2 separate regions of the Homo sapiens genome follow, and region 2 is linked to region 1. Evidence: promoter capture Hi-C in human tissues and cell types (Jung and others, 2019). All regions are on one chromosome and are shown on one strand. The core of a region is centred on a gene start or on the middle of the fragment in contact, and the rest is flanking DNA. Distances in the headings are between cores, read along the strand shown.

Evidence for each region. Contacts are between HindIII fragments. The study calls those that stand out against the background at their distance.
Region 2: a contact is called between a fragment that was not itself captured here and the fragment with the promoter of RNF8 in region 1, in 1 of the 25 tissues and cell types used here (dorsolateral prefrontal cortex).

The regions. Positions count from the first base shown.
Region 1 is chr6:37,352,065-37,355,622 of GRCh38, reverse strand. It overlaps RNF8 (ring finger protein 8), which reads right to left and starts at 1,640. Exons shown (of 8, transcript NM_003958.4): 1 at 1,348-1,640. The coding sequence starts at 1,458. RefSeq lists an enhancer at 1,338-1,387 and a silencer at 1,688-1,787. The HindIII fragment of the contact is 14,582 bases long and covers 1-3,558 here.
Region 2 is chr6:38,494,804-38,498,373 of GRCh38, reverse strand. The region is part of intron 6 of BTBD9 (BTB domain containing 9); the gene reads left to right. Among named protein-coding and RNA genes, the nearest start is that of BTBD9-AS1, 15 kb to the right of the region's middle. The HindIII fragment of the contact is 5,265 bases long and covers 1-3,570 here.

The DNA of each region.
Region 1 (3,558 bases), core at 391-2,890:
TAGACATGAATTCCTCCTCTGACTTGAAGAACTACTGCTCTGGGAAGGAACTAAATAATCCAAATCTTAGCACTTGATCATACAGCCCATATGGATGTTCTTTATACGATGACTGCTTCATTGTATAAATCCTCTCTCCCCACTCAAGCCTTAAACTCTTCGAGCGCAGAAATTTTATTTGTCCTCATTGTACACCAAACAATGTTAAATACTCAGTAAATACCTGGCAGACTGAATTGAGGCAGTACGGCTTATAGGAAAAATCTACCTGAACACACATGAGACTCAAAATACTTCTTGAATTTACATCATGACCAACCATCCACTTTTACTGCAAAGAGAACTTTTCATACAGATTATTTCCAAAACCCAAATGGTTCCCAGTCATCACAAGCTTGTCCCTGACCCAGTTCTCCTTCTCAACCTGATTGCAATCTAACTCCCTCCTCCCTTCCCTCGTCTTTTCAAGATGCACCACGCTGGTGCATCTTGAACCGTGCCAGGAACGGTACCTCATCTTTCCCCTTAAAATATTTTTCATTTGCAACTGCATTAATAAAGACGACAGGCAGCCTCTGGAGAGAACTCTGAATACCTGCCCGACCCACCTCAGGGAGTGCCACTCGGCCGTACCGAGCCTCACAGGAGAAATGTGGCCCAGCCCAAGCCGCCCATGTTCCTCAGAGTTGGGAAGGAGGAAGACATTTCTACGTGAAAGTTTGATTGCTTTAAGGGACAAAACCCAAAATTTGCAATCGTTTTCAAAACAAACTCGAGAAAGTTCAGGCGCCGGGCCCTGCCTCGGCTTCCCGGCAGCTCGCGGCCCCCGCCACCGTTCCCCGACCTGGCACCGCGGGGCTCTGTGCGCCCTAAACGGGATCTGGCCAGCCCCCGCCCTCCCCTCCTCGACACCCCCGCATCTCCTCACGTTCCCTGCGCGTCCCTCTCCTCCCAGTCCCCGGCCCAGCTACCCGCTGACCCAGGCCTCTCTGGACGGGGCCCGCTTCTCGCCCCACAGGCCGCGGGTCAGGGCCTCCGTCCTCGCCCCAACCCTTGTGGCCCCCCCGGGCTCCCCAGAGCCGAACTCTCTTTTCTTCCTTTCTCCCACTCGGCCCCTATTTCTCCCCCAAACACCTCCCACCGCAGACCCTTCAGCCGCTCGCGCCAGAACCGCTTTCTCCCTTCTCTCCCCAGGAATCCACCCCCCCCACAGACACTTCGCTCCTCTTCCTGATGCCCGCCTCCTCTCTGCCATTCATTCAGCCCAGCAAGACACCTTCCTCCCTCCCCGGAGCCCCGCTCCCTCCAGCCCCTGCCCTCCGCTCCACAGGACCCCTTCCCCCGTACCTCGCACCCATCTTCCAGCAGCAGCCACCCGGCGCTCATCCCCACCCGCCGCAGGCACCAGCTCCGGCCACCGGCGCGGTCTCCTGTGACGAAGAAGCCGGGCTCCCCCATCGCCTACTCGACCCCGGGGGCGGTCAGCACCGAGCGAGACCCTGACCTAGGTTCTGGCTGCCTCTGTGCATCCCCTCAGCTTCCATATCTAAATAACAGACAGAAGCAATCGCCACACGCTCGCGATCGCTGCGAAAGCAGGCTCCGCTCGCCCGCCCTCGGCCAGGAAGCAGGAGCACTACGCCTGCGCAAGAGGACGGCGGCCGCCCTGGAGCAAAGAGGGTGGGTTGGGAGCCAATCCGGCCCTGGGCGGGGCGGGCGCGATTCGAGAGGTCTCCTCGCCTCACACCTTCCCTCGCCGCCTCCAGAACCATCACCCCAGTCCTAGCCGCCCCAGACTGGAACCTCTTCTCACCTTTCCTCTTTTTAAAAAAGTCATGTGAAACTATAGCCCACTTTTAAACAACTTTAAACTTTCCATCGGATTTAAGTCTGCCTAGTCTGTTGCTAAATAGTCTCTATTTTGCACGACCTACTTATATTACCGAAGTAAAAAATAAATTACACTAGGCAAATCTACAAAGACAAAGAGCACAGTTACCTGGGGCGAGGTGTGGGAGCGGGTATTGAATGCAGATGGGCTTGAAAAAATTGGAGGAAAGCGGTAATAGAAATGTTCTAAAAGTGGATTGTGGTGACAATTGTACAACTGTATAAGTTTATTAAAAAGTCATGGAAGTGTGGCCGGACGCAGTGGCTCACGCCTGTAATCCCAGCACTTTGGGAGGTCGAGACGCGCGGATCACTTGAGTTCAGGAGTTGTGACCAACCTGGCCACATGGGGAGACACCGTATCTACAAAAAAAAAAAAAAAAAAAGGAGGAAGGGAGGGAGAGAAAGGAAAAAAGAAAAAAAAGAAAAATTAGCTAGGTGTGGTGGTGCACACCTGTAGTCCGGCTACTTGGGAGGCTGAGGTGGGAGGATCACCTGACCCCGGGAGGCAGAGGTTGCAGTGAGCCGACATGGCGCCACTGCATCCCAGCCTGGGCGACAGAGTGAGACCCTGTAAAGTGAAGAAAGTGTAAACTTCCAGTGGGTGAATTTTATGGCATGTAAATTATACTCAATAAAGCTGTTAATTTTATTATTATTATTACTGATTACAGACAGGGTCTCGCCCTGTCACCCAGGCTGGAGTGCAGCCTGGAGTGGTGCGATCTCAGCTCACTGCAACCTCCGCCTCCCGGGTTCAAGAGATTCTCCTGCCTCAGCCTCCAGAGTAGCTGGGATTACAGGCACGCGCCACCACGCCCGGCTAATTTTTATATTTTTTGGTAGATACCGGGTTTCGCCGTGTCTCCTGGATTCAAGTGATCCAACCGCCTCAGCCTCCCAAAGTGCTGAGATTACAAGCATGAGCCCCCGAGCCCGGCCAATTAAAAAATTGTTTTTAAACTCAGCCTCTCCTTTGGATTTTCCATATAGTGTGATAGCTGCTGCCTGCAGTGAGTACATCCAATGGTTGAGCCCCTTTTGTCTTTTCAGTTTTCCAACACCCAGTTAACAATTTCTTTCTTCTTTCTTTCCTTCCTTCCTTCTCTTTCTTTCTTTTCTTTTTTCTTTCTCTTTTCTTCTTTCTCTCTCTTTCTTTCTCTCCTTCCTTCCTTCCTTCCTCCCTTCTTCCTCTCTTTTTTTTTTTTTTTTGCACAAGGGGAAAGAAGGAAAACAATTTTCCTAAATAAAATTCTGTCAAAAAACCAGCCGGGCTGGGCATGGTGGCTCATGCCTGTAATCTCAGCACTTTTGAGAGGCCGAGGCAGGCGGATCACCTAAGGTTGGGAGTTCAAGACCAGCCTGACCAACATGGAGAAACACCGTCTCTACTAAAAATACAAAGTTAGCCCAGCGTGGTGGCGTGTGCCTGTAATCCCAGCCACTCAGGAGGCTGAGCCAGGAGACTCGCTTGAACCCAGGAGGCAGAGGTGGCGGTGAGCCGAGATCTCGCCATTGCACTCCAGCCTGGACAACAAGAGTGAAACTCCATCAAAACAACAACAACAAAAAAAACAAAAACAAAAACAAAAAACACACACACAGCCAAGTGTGGCGGCTCACGCCTGTAATCCCAGCACTTTGGGAGGCCGAGGCAGGTGGATCACC
Region 2 (3,570 bases), core at 89-2,588, 1.1 Mb before region 1:
GTAGAACTGTTTAGTACAGTCTGTGAAGAAATATGCTTAGCATTCTCTTGCCCATGAACATGGAGTGTGGATGGCAGAGTCCAGCTCTGGTGTTGTGACTCATCCTTGATACCTCACCAGTCCTGGAACAACCTAGTTGTGGAAAAACTGGGATAGGTTGGATTTGGTTTTAGATATTATAGACAGGTGCGTCAGGCAGCTGAATTTGTACAGTAAACCACTTTTGTAAATGATCAGATTTCTGTGTCTGATAATTTGTTGGGAATCACTTGGATGTTGGTTGTGCTGGAAATTCTTATTAATGTGAAAGACACTTTATAGTTATTGTTTCCATAAAGCCAACAAGATTCAAACATAACAGTATTGAGACCAAGGGGCATCTCAGCCTTAAATCCATTTTTCAGCATGCCTAACACACATTATTCTTATTAAATACCTCTTTCTATAAACCTAGCTGTTGCTACCTCAGTGGGTTGCTTGCAGTTTGACTGTAGCCTAGCTTGCTTAATTAAGACTTAAAATAATACCTTCGGTTCTGCCTGGGACTTGAGAGAATAGCCAGCTCTGAAGCCTTTGCTTGCTGTAATGGTTGCTCAGTAGTTGGAGTTTTGTAGCAACAAGGTTTGGAAATCCTCTACCATACAATGGTTTTTATTGTTAATAGGTCTAGTTGTAAGTAGTCATCCTTTTTGACATCAGTTCCTTCTTGCTGAATACTTTATTCTTCTCAGTTTTCTTTTCCTCCCTTTCATCTTTTCTGCTCTCTCCTTTCCTCCCCTTCACTGCCTTTCTCGTTCTCTTTCTTTCCATATCATGAACTGGTAAATTTGCAAAAAGGGACTCCATACTGCTGCCATGTGTAGGGTCCGGGAAACCTGATCATTTTGAAGAGCTAGCCCGTTCTAATGCTATGGTTAGGAAACATCTTACTGAATGTTGCATCTTTTGTGATGTGTGAAATTCCAGAGGAAGTACAGTTTGGGGAAAAAAAGTGTATCCTTGGGACCTACATTAGAGAATATAAATCACAAATCAATATACAGTTCAGATAATACTAGATCGTATACAGCAACTGCCTGTGACAGCAGTGGGAGGTGGGAAAAGTCCCCTCCCTGTGTGCATTTTGAGAAATACACTGTTTTTATTTGGTACAGTTGCATATTCATTTCTAACAGACTGCATCCTAAAAGAATTGGACTTTTATAGATTCCATGAATATTCAGAGAGTCACCAAAACCAATTTTGTCCTTTACCTTATGTGTCTAGACCCATCTGTCATTTGCTTGCTAGATGGTCATAGTTCTGTATTGTGGCATTTGTCTTTTGAGAAAAAGGTATTTCCCATGTTGATAAGGGGGCATGCTGGTACCTTTGCTTCCCTGCTTGAAAGTTTTCACCTTCAGGGTGGATCTTGGTGAGAGCATGTGGCTAGGCCCTGGCTACTTTGCTGTCTGCCACCAGCTCTCTTAAGCTTTTAGGGCATTGTTTTAGACACTAACGTAGCAAGGGAAGGCATGATGGCTGTTGCCACTAGTAAGTCATAGGGTACTTGGCAAGCTGGCAAAAGCTAGAAGCCTCATTCATTTGCATTTTAATTGGAATGACCATTAGCCAAAAGCCCGAATTTTTAAAATTGTCCATTGAGTCCTTTTTCCCTTTACCCTCTCATTTTCCTGAAGCTGATTTCCATCTCTCTCTCTCTTTTTTTTTTTTTTTTTAAGAGACAGGGTCTTGCTCTGTCACCCAGGCTGCAGTGCAGTGCAGTGGTGTGATCATGTCCTGCTGCAGCCTCAACCTCCTGGGCTAAAGCAGTCCTCCTGCCCCAGCCTCCTGAGTGGTTGGGACTACATGTGTGTGCCACCGTGCCCAGCTAATTTAATTTAATTTTTTTTTTGTAGTGACAGAGTCTCCCTGTGTTACTCAGGCTGGTCTTGAACTCCTGGGCTCAAGCAGCCCTCTCACCTCAGCCTCCCAAAGTACTATGGTTACAGGTGTGAACCACTGCGCCTGGCTGATTTGCATCTTTAGAAAAATGTGTTTCTCAACATTTAAAAACTCATGTCTCTTTGATAAACTTACAAATCTTACATCTCCTTTAATATTATTTAAAATATTATAAAAAGTAAGAATTGTAATAAAAGAAGGCAGTGACAGCCTGAGAAGGATGCCCTTTCTTTCCTTCAGTCGTGTGAGTCATGTGTGAAAGTGGGGCTGGCTTGCTTGCCCCAAGTGTTTTTCCTGTTCTTGCCAGTGACAGAGCACAGAGGAGGTCACTTTCACATCAGGCCTCTTCAGCTGCTTTGTTTTCACGGTCACAACGGGCAGAAAGCCTGCTTTGCAAATGTTGTGTATTTTATTATAATTTTGAAAATGCTTTTTTAGATGACACATGTGCCCATCTCTTCTCTCCAAAGGATTCTGATATGACTCCCATACCATTTCTTACCACCTCACTGCTCTTAATACTTAAACATGAAGAAAGAGACAGAAGAAAGTAATTAAGATGGGATAAGTAAGACATTCTTATTCATGAGCATATTCTGTCTGTCATCATCCCCACGGGGCTGTTATTGCACCTCCTCTTCATTGTTATACCCCCGCCCCCCCGCCCAGATGCACCTGCACGGTCATTTGAGCCCTGTCCTCCAGTCATACTTGGATAAGAGGAAGCCAGCCTCACTGGTTCCATCACAGTTCTAACTGCTGTATAGAGTTCTGTGGTGCCTTAAGTAATACGATTATGTATAGAAAAGCTGGGTGCAACCAGTAGCACATGAAGCACATAACAAATGCCAATTCTGTTCCTTTTCCTCCCCTTTCCAGAATTCAGTGTGTTTGCTTCCAGAACCATCTTTGGGTCTTCTAATGTATAATAAAGAAGGACAGGTTTTTCATAGATGAAATTTTGAGTGGGTTTTATTGATTCACCCATGTGACTCCATACCTGCTAACTCTGGTTCCAGTCCTCCTTCTGGTGAAAATAGGTCTTCTGCATTCTTTTGTTGGTAAGAATAGATGGAGAAGAGAACTAACATTCTTTGAAGATCTCCCGTGTGAGTTTCAGGCAGTCAGGCTTAGTTATTTCATTTGCATCATTACAATGAATCCTCACCACATTCCCATGAGATGGGAACAATTATCTTCATTTCATAGATGAAGAAACGAAACACAGAGATGTTATTTGCCTGTTTTGATCTGTAGCGGTGGAAACAAGATGCAAGGCCACAGCCATTGTTCTTGACATTATATAGAGTTGCTTTGTCGGTTTCGGTGAAAGGTATGATTCTTTAAAACATGCTTAAACTTTTCTATTCTTTGGGTAGGCAGAAAAGGGAAAAAATAGCTAGTTATTATTATCCTTTTGATAGCAAACTCCCTCATGCTACCTAGTAACTATTTGGTATAGGATCCGGGGCAATGCTTGTATGCCCCCAGATGCCTTGCAGTATTTATTTGGCAGACCAAGAATATTATAAGTGTTTACTCTATGGCAGTAGTTATTAAAAGTGGAATTATGATCTCTTTTCATTGTGAGAAATCAATGTCTTTTCAAGAATAGGAGTATTTTAG